5 separate regions of the Homo sapiens genome follow, and regions 2, 3, 4 and 5 are each linked to region 1. Evidence: promoter capture Hi-C in human tissues and cell types (Jung and others, 2019). All regions are on one chromosome and are shown on one strand. Each heading gives the region's core, a stretch centred on a gene start or on the middle of the fragment in contact. The rest is flanking DNA. Distances are from core to core; before and after follow the strand shown.

Evidence for each region. Contacts are between HindIII fragments. The study calls those that stand out against the background at their distance.
Region 2: a fragment that was not itself captured here is called in contact with the fragment with the promoter of CRCP in region 1 in 1 of the 25 tissues and cell types used here (spleen).
Region 3: a contact is called between a fragment that was not itself captured here and the fragment with the promoter of CRCP in region 1, in 1 of the 25 tissues and cell types used here (spleen).
Region 4: a fragment that was not itself captured here is called in contact with the fragment with the promoter of CRCP in region 1 in 1 of the 25 tissues and cell types used here (dorsolateral prefrontal cortex).
Region 5: a fragment that was not itself captured here is called in contact with the fragment with the promoter of CRCP in region 1 in 1 of the 25 tissues and cell types used here (mesenchymal stem cells).

The regions. Positions count from the first base shown.
Region 1 is chr7:66,113,549-66,116,121 of GRCh38, reverse strand. It overlaps CRCP (CGRP receptor component), which reads right to left and starts at 1,275. Exons shown (of 6, transcript NM_014478.5): 1 at 1,152-1,275. The coding sequence starts at 1,159. RefSeq lists silencers at 486-780, 2,209-2,399 and enhancers at 367-895, 1,433-1,562. The HindIII fragment of the contact is 12,363 bases long and covers 1-2,573 here.
Region 2 is chr7:66,945,628-66,948,200 of GRCh38, reverse strand. The region is part of intron 3 of TMEM248 (transmembrane protein 248); the gene reads right to left. Among named protein-coding and RNA genes, the nearest start is that of TMEM248, 26 kb to the right of the region's middle. The HindIII fragment of the contact is 3,961 bases long and covers 1-2,573 here.
Region 3 is chr7:65,380,502-65,383,074 of GRCh38, reverse strand. All of the region lies in intron 1 of ZNF92 (zinc finger protein 92), which reads right to left. Among named protein-coding and RNA genes, the nearest start is that of ZNF92, 7.9 kb to the right of the region's middle. The HindIII fragment of the contact is 3,903 bases long and covers 1-2,573 here.
Region 4 is chr7:66,723,694-66,726,266 of GRCh38, reverse strand. It overlaps a transcript of RABGEF1 not described here. Among named protein-coding and RNA genes, the nearest start is that of RABGEF1, 16 kb to the left of the region's middle. The HindIII fragment of the contact is 3,653 bases long and covers 1-2,573 here.
Region 5 is chr7:66,642,991-66,645,563 of GRCh38, reverse strand. It overlaps KCTD7 (potassium channel tetramerization domain containing 7), which reads right to left. Exons shown (of 4, transcript NM_153033.5): 4 at 2,517-2,573. Among named protein-coding and RNA genes, the nearest start is that of KCTD7, 15 kb to the right of the region's middle. The HindIII fragment of the contact is 3,952 bases long and covers 1-2,573 here.

The sequences.
Region 1 (2,573 bases), core at 26-2,525:
GTGTTTAAAAAAAAATCGGAAGAGGCCAGGTGAAGTGGCTCACGCCTGCAATCCCAGGACTTTGGGAGTACAAAGCAGGAGGATCACTTGAGCTCAGGAGCTGGAGACCAGCCTGGGCTGTAGTGAGACCCTGCATCTACAAAACTTTTTTTAAAAAATTAGCGGTGAGTGATGGCGTGGGCCTGTAGTCCCAGCTACTGAAGAGGCTGAAGCAGGATTGCTTGAGTCCAGAAAGTGAGGCTGCAGTGAACCATGATTACACCCCGCCTGGGGGACAGAGCAAGACCCTGTTTCTTAAGAAAAAACAATTAATTAAAAATGTAAAAATGTGAAATGCCATAGTACATATAACCATTAAACATGAGGCAAAAGAACATAAAGGAAACTGTATCAAATAATCAGTTCAAAGAGAACACAAGATAGTAATACCTACAAATTAATATCAACCGTATAAAGCCCACATTCAGAGTAGATGCAAAATCTTCCATTTGCACCAGGCGCAACGAGCAAGCATGGAAAAGACCACGTGGAGTTAAACTGTCAGAAAATCTTTTACCCTCGCCTTGCACACACACCCACACACCCCCTGCTGTTTCTCTGGTCCCAGTCCTGGTTCACGTCCTTCCCTTCTCCACCCCAAAACCAGCCCCTTCCCTCACAGTGTTTACTGCTCCCATCAAATTCCGAGGGCAGCTCTTCCGAGGGCTCTCCAGGGGCCTACAGCTGCAAGCAGAGCTCTACCCGGCCCTGATTCGTCTCTCCTCCACCTACTTTCAGGGCGGACAGACTCAGGCCTTTATAGCCTTCTAAGTCCGGGGTCGGATACCAGACTGGGCTCCACCCCCGCACTGTGACCCAGAAACGCTGGTAAACGAATGAGAGAAGGAGGGGGCACATTGAAAGGCAGCCGGACACGGAAGTGCTCGGCCCCGCACCAGACACGGCGTGGAGGGGAAGCGAAGGTTCGGAAGGGCAAAGCGAGAGTCCCGTTCGTCCCCGTCACCACCCCGCGGCCCTCCCGGACAGGGCCGGCCCGCTGCCCTCACTCCCGTACGAGGGTCGCCCAGTCCCCACGGCTCTCGGCTCTCAGCTCTCAGCGGTCAAACCGTTGGGCTCCTCGGGCGAAAAGGGACGCGCCCGAGAAGACTTACACTTCCATGACGTCCCGCCTCGTCGCCCCTAGCTGCCAGCAGACAAAGAACCTCACACTTCACAGCTGTCTCCGCCGCCACCAACAGCGCCAAGGTGCCAGCTCCGCGCGCCAAGGTGCTCGCCGGGATCGCCGCGCTGCATGCCGGGAGCTTGGCGGACCCGGAACCTCGCGCTGCGCGTTCCCCTTTTTCGGGGGGCAGGGTGGGGGAGTGTCCCTGCATCCTTCCACCAGGCCGATTTAAGACTGCTAAGCGTTTGCGGACAGGATTATCTTGTGTTTTCTTTTCTTTTTTTCTTTAACCTTTTTTTTTTTTTGAGACGGAGTCTCGCTCTGTCGCCCAGGCTGGATCTCGGCTTACTGCAACCTCCGCCTCCTGGGTTCAAGCGATTCTCCTTCTGCCTCAGCCTCCCAAGTAGCTGGGACTACAGGCGCTTGCCACCAAGCCCGGCTAATTTTTTGTGTTTTTAGTAGAGACGGGGTTTCACCGTGTTAGCCAGGATGGTTTCAATCTCCTGACCTCGTGATCCGCCCGCCTCGGCCTCCCAAAGTCCTGGGATTACAGGCGTGAGGCACCGTGCCCAGCCTCTTTTTTTCTTTTTTGAGACAGAGTCTCGCTCTGTCACCCAGGCTGGAGTGCAGTGGCACGATCTCGGCTCACTGCAATCTCTGCCTCCCAGGTTCAAGCAATTCCCTGCCTCAGCCTCCCGAGTAGCTGGGATTACAGGCGCCCGCCATAACGCCTAGCTAATTTGTGTATTTTTTAGTAGAGACGGGGTTTCATCATCTTGGCCAGGCTAGTCTTGAACTCCTGACCTCGTGATCCACCCGCTTCGGCCTCCCAAAGTGTTGGGATTACAGGCGTGAGCCACCTCGCCGGGCTCTGTCTGTTTTCGTGGTCTAGGTTTTAACAAAGTATTAATCAGCTGAAGTTGTGAGACGTGATCGGGTTAGTGGGCCTTTGCATGTTAAAATCCCACCTCTCAGAGAGTAGTGAGGCTGGTGGCATCTGGGCTGCCAGAAACATTGCAGTTTATTTATTTATTTTTTAAGAGACAGGGTCTTGCTCTGTCGCCCAGGCTGGAATGCAGTGGTGCAATCAGAGCTCACTGCAGCCTTGAACTCCTGGGCTCAAGCAATCCTCCCACCCCAGCCTGCCAGAGTAGCTGGGACCACAGGTGCGCTCCGCTACACCTGGCTAATTTTCTTTTTTTCTTTTTCTTTTTCTTTTTTTTTTTTTTTGAGATCAGTCTCACTCTGTTGCCCAGGCTGGAGTGCAGTGTCGTGATCTCGGCTCATTGCAACCTCTGCCTCCTGGATTCAAGCAGTTCCCTGCCTCAGCCTCCCCAGTAGCTAGGATTACAGGTGCCCGCCATAATGCCCAGCTAATTTTTGTATTTTTTTAGTAGAGACGGGGTTTCAC
Region 2 (2,573 bases), core at 19-2,518, 830 kb before region 1:
TATTTCACTTAAAATTTACTACTCTCCCATGAACATGACTGAAGAAGTGCAGCTGTTCCCCTTTTACATATGAACAAACAGAGGTCAGAGGGTTTCAGAGTTAAGAAAGGCAAGTGATGAAGCTTAAACTAAAACCAACGTATTGCCAGGCACAGTGGTTCACATCTGTAGTCCCAGCACTTTGACTTTAGAAGGCTGAGGCAGGAGGATTGCTTGAGGCCGGGAATTCACGACCAGCCTGAACATGACAGCAAGATTCTGTCTCTACAAAAAAGTTTTAAAAATCAGCCAGGTGTACTGGTGCACACCTGTGGTCCCAGGTACTAGGGAGGATCACTTGAGCCCAGGAGTTTGAGGCTGCAGTGAGCTATGATCACACCACTGCACTCTAGCCTGGCGACAGATCAAGACCCAGTCTCAAAATTAAAATAAAATTTTAAATAAAAATTAAATTAAAATAAAAAATTAAAATATTAAAATAAAATTAAAATTAAAAAATAGCCAAGCGTGGTGGCTCATGCCTGTAATCCCAGCACTTTGGGAGGCTGAGGCGGGCGGATCATTTGAAGTCAGAAGTTCAAGACCAGCCTGGCCAACATGGTAAAATCCTGTCTCCACTAAAAATACAAAATTAGCTGGGCATGGTGTCACGAACCTATAATCCCAGCTACGCGGGAGTCTGAGGCAGAACAGTCGCTTGAACCCGGGAGACAGAGGTTGCAGTGAGCCAAGATTGTGCCACTGCACTCCAACCTGGGCGACAGAGTGAGACTCCATCTCAAAATAACAACAAAAAATCCCGAAGGTGTCCTTATGCCATGCCATAAGCAACAGGTCCACTTGCTACATGGAAAACCCAGAAGTCACCCATACCTTGATTATTATGGGAATATTCTCACCTCTAACAGCCAATAGGAGGCTGGTGGGCACTTAAATTCCTTGAAGGACTTTTTATTTGTTTCTTGTTTTTTTTTTTTTTTTTTTTTGAGACAGGGTCTCACTCTATTGCCCAGGCTGGAGTACAGTGGTACAATCTTAGCTCACTGTAGCCTCGACCTCCCAGGTTCAAGCAATCCTCCCACCTCAGCCTCACAAGTAGCTGGGACTACAGGTGCACGCCACAACACCTGGTTAATTTTTTTAATTTTTTCATAAAGACAGGTGTTTGCTATGTGCCCAGGCTGGGCTTCAACACCTGAGCTCAAGCAATCTTCCTGCCTCAGCCTCTCAATGTGCTGGGATTACAGGCATGAGCCACTGCATCTAGCCTAAGCAATTTTTAAAAAGCCTTTTGGTAACCAAAGAACAAAAGGTTATTCTTCCAAGGCCCAGGTGTCCCATATGAAGCCTTTCCTGATTATTCCAGCTTCCACTGCCTTCTAGCCCTTCTCCTGCAACACTTACAGTCTGTCATGGGTTTAGTACTGGTCAAAGGGCAGTGCTCCACATTTTATAAGTATGTATTTTTTCATATCCCTTATCAAGCACTTACGTAGCATTTCCTTTGTGGCAGGAACTATTGTAAGTGCTTGATAAACATTAACTCACGTTTATCTTTGTCTCTTCCATAACCCCAAAATTCCAAAAGGAAGAGACCAAATGTTAGGCCTTTTTTTTTTTTGAGGTGAAGTCTCACTCTGTTGCCTAGACTGGAGTGCAGTGGCATGATCTTGGCTCACTGCAGCCTCCGCCTCCAGGGTTCAAGTGATTCTCCCACCTCAGCCTCCAGAGTGGCTGGGATCACGGGCGCCTGCCACCACGCCTGGCTAATTTTTTTGCATTTTTAGTAGAGATGGGGTTTCACCATGTTGGCCAGACTGGTCTTGAACTCCTGACCTCAAGTGATCCACCCACCTCGGCCTCCCAAAGTGCTGGGATTACAGGCGTGAGCCACTGCGCACGGGCCCATCTTAGGCATTGTCTTTTCTTTTCTTTTTTTGAGATGGAGTCTCGCTCTGTCGCCCAGGCTGGAGTGCAGTGGTGCAATCTCGGCTCACCGCAACCTCCACGTCTTGGGTTCAAACAATTCTCCTGCCTCAGCCTCCTGAGTAGCTGGGACTACAAGTGCGCACCACCATGCCTGCATGCCCAGCTGACTTCTTTTTTTTTTTTTTTGGAGAGAGAGTCTCCCTCTGTCGCCCAGGCTGGAGCACAGTGGCATGAATCTCAGCTCACTGCAACCTCTGCCTCCTGGGTTCAAGCTATTCTCCTGCCTCAGCCACCCGAGTAGCTGGGACTACAGGTGCCTGCCACCACGCCCGGCTAATTTTTGTATTTTTAGTAGAGACGGGGTTTTGCCATATTGGCCAGGCTGGTCTCAAACTCTTGACCTTGTGATCTGCCCACCTTGGCCTCCCAAAGTGCTCGGATTACAGGCGTGAGCCACCGCGCCCGGCCAATTTTTTGTATTTTAGTAGTGATGGGGTTTCACCATGTTGCCCACGCTGGTCTCAAACTCCCGAGCTCAGGCAATCCACCCACCTCGGCCTCCCAAAGTGCTGGGATTACATGCATGAGCTACTGCACCCAGCCATCTTAGTCATTTTCTAGTTCTTCCCAGCAGCTTAGCACAG
Region 3 (2,573 bases), core at 49-2,548, 730 kb after region 1:
TTACTTATTTACTAAAAACAACCTTGATTACTGATTGACATACATTTCTAAGCTGTATAGGGTGTGGGTTATAGTGTTCAGCGTAGCATTATTAGTTTAATTTATAGCTACTCGTGGCAATAGCAAGCAGTTTCAAGAGATAAATACATAGCTCAAAGGAGAGAGAAAGACACAATTGTGGTCTCGTTTTAATGTCTCTTTGAGCCTTATAACTAAAAGGATTTGCATTTCTCAGATAAAAGGTTTACTGCAAGACCCAGATTCAGAATGTGGAGCCGCTAGTTTAGGTCCTGGATGGGTAGAATAGCAGTAAGTGTTACCTGCACATTTGTGGGCATTTTAAAAAGAGAAGGAAGGGGAAAGTGGAGATTCTCATGCCTACATGTCTACTCAATGCATGCATGTTACTCTAACGGGCCCCACAGTCTCTGAATCAGTTTCAGGTCTAAAGATACAAGAGTCATTGAAAGAGGTAAAATGGTTAATTGCTGTTCTGTGAAGTATTTAGAAATTTGGTCTAGCCTCTCTAGATGTGATTATACAGGACTAGATACCAAATAGGCAGAGGCACGATTCTGCCTGCATATTCAGGGGACAGCATGCATTTTGCAGCACAATCATGAGTTGACTGGAAGCCTGAGACAAAAAGGCCCATCTAGATTAAAGCTTGGTTGGCACCTTATATGTTTATATCATGTGTGGTAAGTTTAAACAGTGTTTGGAAAATATAATTAAAAGGAAAGTTTTCTCCAGCCCCAGAGTAACTCCACAATGATAAAACAGAAAGAAAACTGTTTTATTACACAATTACACCAGAATGTGACACGCATCACAATCTGCTTAAGAGACTGCAAAGACAGAAAGACGGTCACAATAATTAGTCCATAAGTAGAAGAATTTACAGTACCATGTTATACATAGTTCATCCTAAATTCACCTGGCAACTGGGGAGGCCATCCGTGTAAGCTAATTGGCTATATTCAATGACAAAATAAACTTTTCACATCTTCGTGACAGGAGGTAGTTTTGCAATTTGAAGCCAGGTGCCTGCTGAAGGTAGGCTCTCACTCTCCTATAGAAATGGTTGAATATAGTGCTCTCTTTTTGGCTATTTGCATTTTAAAGCAATAGCTCTCTACTCTGAGCACTACCACAGCAACATGATACCAGTACAAAAACAGGCTCAGAGACCAATGCAACAGAATAGAGAGCCCAGAAATAATGTGGCACACCTACAATCATCGTATTTTTGACAAAGCTGACAAGAGAAATGTAGGAGAGATTCCCTGTTTAATAAATGGTGTTGTAATAAATAGCTAGCACTATGTAAAAGATTAAAACTGGACTCCCTGCTTACACTATATCCAAAAATAAACACAAGATAAATTAAGGACTTAAATGTAAAACTTAAAATTATAAAATGCCCTGGAAGATAACCTAGGAAATACAATTCCAGACATAGAAACTGCCAACGATATTATGATGAAGATACCAAAAGCAATCGCCACAAAAGCAAAAATCGATAAATGGGACCAAATTAAACTAAAGAGCATCTTCACAGAAAACAAAAACAAAACCCACAAGAAACTATCAACAGAGTAAACAGACAACCTAGAGAATAAAGAAAAATATTTGCAAACTATGCTTCTGACAAAGGTCTAATATCCAGAATCCATAAGGAACTTAAGCAAGTTTACAAGAAAAAAAAAACCTTATTAAAAAGTAGGCAAAGGACATAAACACACGCTTTTCAAGAGAAAGCAGGTGGGTGTGGTGCCTCACACCTGTAATCCTAGCACTCTGGGAGGCCAAGGTGGGTGGATCACAAGGTCAAGAGTTCGAGACCAGCCTGGCCAATATGGTGAAACCCCCGTCTCTACTAAAAAAAATACAAAAATTAGTCAGGCATGGTGGGGCGTGCCTGTAATCCCAGCTACTTGGGAGGCTGAGGGAGAATTGCTTGAACCCAGGAGATGGAGGTTGCAGTGAGCCGAGATCGTGCCACTGCACTCCAGCCTGGATAACAGAGCGAGACTCCATCTCCAAAAAGAAAAGAAAAAAAAGAGAAAGCATACATGTGGCTAACAAGCATATTAAAAAAGTGCTCATCACTAATCATTAGAGAGATGCAAACAAACAAACAAAAAAAACACCACAATGAGATACCATCTCACACCAGTAAGAATGGCAATTACCAAAAAAGTCAAAAAAATAATAGATGTGCTGGCAAAGTTGCAGGGTAAAGAGAATGCTTATACTCTGCTGGTGGGAGTGTAAATTAGTTCAACCATTGTGAAAAGCAGTGTGACAATTCCTCACAAAACTAAAAACAGAATTACCATTTGACCCACCTCCTAATTAGGTATATACCCAAAGAATACAAATTATTCTATCATAAAGACCCATGCACATGCATCTTCATTGCAGCACTAGTGACAGTACCAAAGACATGGAATTAACCTAAATACCCTCAATGGTAGGCTAGATAAAGAAAATACATTGTGGTTGAGCATAGTGGTTCACGCCTGTAATCCCAGCACTTTGGCAGGGTGAGGCAGGTGGATTGCGTGAGC
Region 4 (2,573 bases), core at 46-2,545, 610 kb before region 1:
GGACTGCAGAACTGGAGGCACTACCACCCAGCAGATATGAATAAGCACCCACTGACTAGGCACTCTCATAGTCATTTGATGGCTCTGGGTCCCAGCTGTGGGCAAAGCCCAGGCTGGGTGCTTTGGGATTCTGGCTCTGTGCCTGGCATCCCTTCTGGCCCTGTCTGAGTAGCAGCTTCCTGCAGACAGATGTGGCCTTGTGCCCTGTGCTGGCAGGTCCTCCCGAGAGCTGAAGGTGCCTTAGGACCCAGGCCCATGGCTGCTGACCTCCACTGATCAAGGGAGGCCTGATGAATGGGGGTTTTCTAAGTGGGATCACATCTCTCCTCAGGTCACAGTGCCCAAGAAAGGGTCACAGCTTCCCCCTCTGATTGGGTCTTCACATGGAAGGGTCCACGTCCCCCTCAGATTAGACTTTCCAAAGCATGGGTGTAACTCCCTCATCAGACTTACTTTTCGGGGGAGCTCCTTGTGTCTTCCCTCAGACCTTTTGCAAAGCATGCCTATGTTTCTCCCCTTAGGGTAAGGCCATGTCCTCTCTGTCATACCAGCTTCCTAGGAGTTCCACCCACAGTGTGGCCTTCTATCCGAGCTGCACTTTCCTCATCCATAAAGTTGGGGGAGTCATATCTGCCTCATAAAATTGCCATGGATGGAACAAAAACAGCATAACATCACAATATTCACGAACTCATCAAAACTCACTATAGCCATACTATGTAATGTTATTGGCAATAAAAAGAAACAAGAACTGATACATGCCACAACATGGATGGACTCTGAACACATGATGCTAAGTCACAAAGAATCACAGATTGCATTATTCCAGTTATATGAATAGACAAATCTATAAAGACAAAAAGTAGATGGGTGGTGGCCTAGGGCTGAGGGTGGGGCAGAATGGAGGGACTGTGGGACAAGGGCTAAGGGGAGTGAAGCTTCTTTTAGGGATAAGGAAAATATTGTAAAATTGATTATGATGATGGATGTACAATTCTCTGAATATACTAAAGGTCATTAAAGTGTACATGTTAAATTAGTGAATTGTATGGTAAAGTAAAGTGTATCTTGATAAAGCTGTAAAAGGATGTACAGACATGTAAGGAAGTGGGAAAATATGACCTGTAATTAAAAAAATAATAATCGAAACAGACCCAGAAGTGACAAAGATGATCAAATTAGTTTCCAAGATTTTAAATCGGCTATAGAAATATGTTCAAGATTTTAAAGGGAAAACAAATATAATAAGGAGAGAAATAGAAGATTTAAAAGAGAACCAATGGAACTTCTAGAGCTGAAAACATAATGTCTAAGATAAAAAACATATGGGATGAGCTTAACAGCAGATTTGGCACTACAAAGACAAGATCAATGAACCTGAATCTATCTAAACTAAAGCACCAAGGGAAAAAAGCAAGCCAAAAAAAATTTTAACAGAGCCTTGGTGACCTATAGGACAATATTAATCCATCCAACACACATATAATTGGAGTACCAGAGGCAGAAGAAATAATTGCTGAATTTTTTTCAAACTATAAATTTGATGAAAACCATGAACCCAAAGATCCAAGAAACTCAAAGAGCTCCAAGAAGAATAAATATTGATTCAGGCCAGGTGCAGTGGCTCACGCCTATAATCCCAGCACTTTGGGAGGCCGAGGTGGGTGGATCACAAGGTCACGAGATCAAGACCAGCCTGACCAACATGGTGAAACCCTGTCTCTACTAAAAATACAAAAATTAGCTGGGCGCAGTGGCATGCGCCTGTAATCTCAGCTACTCGGGAGGCTGAGGCAGGAGAATTGCTTGAACCTGGGAAGCGGTGGGTGCAGTGAGCCGAGATCGCGCCACTGCACTCCAACCTGGTGACAGAGCGAGACTCCGTCTCAAAAAAAAAAAATAAAATAAATAAATACTGATTCAAAGAAAACCACACCAAAACATATCACAATCAAGTTGCTGAATACCAAAAATAAAGAGAAAAATCTTAAAAGCAGCCAGAGAAGGAAATAACACATTATGTAGAAGGAACAAAGATAAGAATTACTGCTGACTTATTATCAGAAACAATGAAAGCTAGAGGACAATAACATGACATCTTTAGAGTGCTGGGGGGAAAAAGCTGTTAACCTATAATTCTTTATTCAATTAAAATAGCCTCTCTCAAACGAAGACAAAAAAAAAATTTCTTAAGAAACAAATGGTGAGAAAATTTATTGCCCAACAGAAACTGCAACACAAAAATTTATAAAATTAAAATTTCAGGCTAAAGGAAAAAGATAAACATAAACATGAAATACAAGACAATGAAAAGCACTAAAAATGGCAAATATGTGGATTAATGTAACAGATATTTTCTCTTATTTTCATTTCTTTAAAAGATAATTGGCCAGGCATGGTGGCTCACACCTGTAATCCCAGCACTTTGGGAGGCTAAGGTGGGCAGATCACCTGAGGTCAGGAGTTCGAGACCAGCCTGACCAACATGGTGAAACCCCGTCACTACTAAAAATACAAAAGTGGCCAGGCGTGGTGTCACAGCCCTGTAATCCCAGCTACTCAGGAGGCTGAGG
Region 5 (2,573 bases), core at 51-2,550, 530 kb before region 1:
CCAGCACTTTGGGAGGCCAAGGCGGGTACATCACCTGAGGTCAGGAGTTTGAGACCAGTCTGGCCAATATGGTGAAACCCCATCTCTACTAAAAATACAAAAATTAGCCAGGCTTGGTGGCGCGTCTGTAATCCCAGCTACTTGGGAGGCTGACGAAGGAGGATTGCTTGAACCCAGCTGGTGGAGGATGTAGTGAGCTGAGATTGCACCACTACACTGCAGCCTGGGCAACAGAGCAAGACTGTCTCAAAAAAAAAAAAAAGAAAGAAAGAAAGAAAGTTTAAAATTATGTTTAAAAAACAGAGAAATTAAGCTAAAGTACATGATAGGAAAAACAATGTGGTAAGGAATTAAAAGAAAGCTAAAGGTAAGTAAATAAAAGCTAAGGGAACAGGCTATAAGTTCAACAAACCAAAATTAAGTAGTGAAGAGGTCATCTACACAAGAATGAAGACGGGACACTTGGCAGTATAGAGATCTAAGTCCAAGGGCCATGAGTCCCAAGCCAGGCACATGGCATCCCCTGAACTACACTAAGGAGTCTCCCATTCTGTTATGCTTTTGATGTTGGAAGTAGGCTATCCAGCTTGTCTATGCAGGGATACCTGCAAGGCTTCAGGAGTGTCATTAACTCAGGTGGTTCCAGATCATCCCACCCTTGGGGTCTAGCCAAGGAGCCATGACTCACCTACTCTGTCATACTCCATACATCATCCTGTGAACAGGGCCTCCTTCACCTAGCGGATATGTGTCCCTCACTAAGAAGGTCAGTAAATCGGGAGCCCCATCTACCCCCTTAACACAGGGGCTACATAAGGACTACACATTTGATATGGTTTGGCTCTGTGTCCCCACCCAAATCTCATGTTGAACTGTAATCCCCACTTGTCAGGGGAGGGACCTGGAGGGAGGTGATTGGATCATGGAGGTAGATTTCCCCTATGCTGTTCTTGTGATAGTGAGTTTTCACGAGCTCTGATGGTTTAAAAGTGTAGCATTTCCCCACTCTTTTTTTATTTTTGTGGGATGGAGTCTCACTCTGTTTCCAGGCTGGAGTGCAGTGGCATGATCTCGGCTTATTGCAACCTCTGCCTCCTGAGTTCAAGTGATTCTCCTGCCTCAGCCTCCCGAGTAGCTGGGACTACAGGTGCACGCCACCATGCCCAGCTAATTTTTTTGTATTTTGTTTTTTAATAGAGATGGGGTTTCACCATGTTGGCCAGGATGGTCTCAATCTCTTGACCTCGTGATCTGCCTGCCTCGGCCTCCCAAAGTGCTGGGATTATACAGGCATGAGCCACCATGCCTGGCCTCCCCATTCTCTCTCTCTCCTGCCTCCATATAAGATGTGCCTTGCTTCTGAACTTCGCCTTCTGCCATGATTATAAGTTTCCTGAGGCCTCCCAGGGATGTGAACTGTGGGTCAATTAAACCTCTTTTCTTTATAAATTAACCGGTCTCAGGTAGTTCTTTACAGCAGTGTGAAAATGGACTAATACAACATCTATGGGAGATTTTTTTTTTCCTTTTTTCCTAAAATCCTTTCCTGAAGTATGAAGACTTTCTAATACTTGTCCTAGATATGTGCTTTCAAATCTTCACAGGTCAGGTAGAGTGAAGCCCTAAACCTCAGGAGGAGGATACGAGCTGTCAAGAGGAAGGGAGGATCATGCTGTTGAACACCTCTGAGGATTTCAGAAAGGGGCTCTGGGTTTGAATCCTGACTCTTCCACTTACTAGCTCTGCACTCTTGGGGAAACTACATACTTCTATGAGCTTCAGTTTCCAGCCTGTATTATTAGTGTACTATAACTATGTGACTGTACTCAGTAATTAGTCAGGGAATACATTTGGCACAGATGATACAGTGCTTTTGTTTAAAAGCCAGAATAATCAGAGGTTTAAGGGAAGCAGTTGGAGGGTATGAAGCTACTCAGAGCCTCAGAACTCACCTTTCTGCGTTAATCCATGATGTGACTCCAGGGGGCATCTTGATGAGGACACTCATTAGCCAGGAAGGTGTCAAGCTCTGCTTTCAAAGGAAGGGCAACTTACGTCCATTTTTCTTAAGGAAGGGTCTTAACCACTGAGGCTTACATAAATTTAGAGCTACTTATTTCCCCCATTGAAAAGGAAGTGGTAATATGACAGGAGGAATTTATTTTAGAACTACCTGACATGGTTGTGAGCCACACACGTGACTGCACCTGCAGTCTCTTCTTTCCTTGGAGAACTCCCAAAAGAAGAGGACAGAGATTTTGCCTAGGCTGGGGTGGGCACATGCCTACATGAAACAGGGACAAGTCTAGAGTAACTCTAGAAGGGTCCTCAAGAGGCCCACCTCCCTTTCAGGGCAGAAATTCAGCTGCTGGTCTCAGGGAAAAGCCTGTCTTGTTGTGTGGGGCATCCCCAAACACACCACATTTTAAGCAGAAATAAAAAATATTTGCTGGCAAAGTGGGGGTCAGAGAAGAGATGAGAGCACATCTCTAAAAAAGAAAGGCACAGCACCCAGGTTCTAGTTCTTGACTTTAATGCCCTTGGAGTGTACTGAGGCTCAATACACCAAAGCA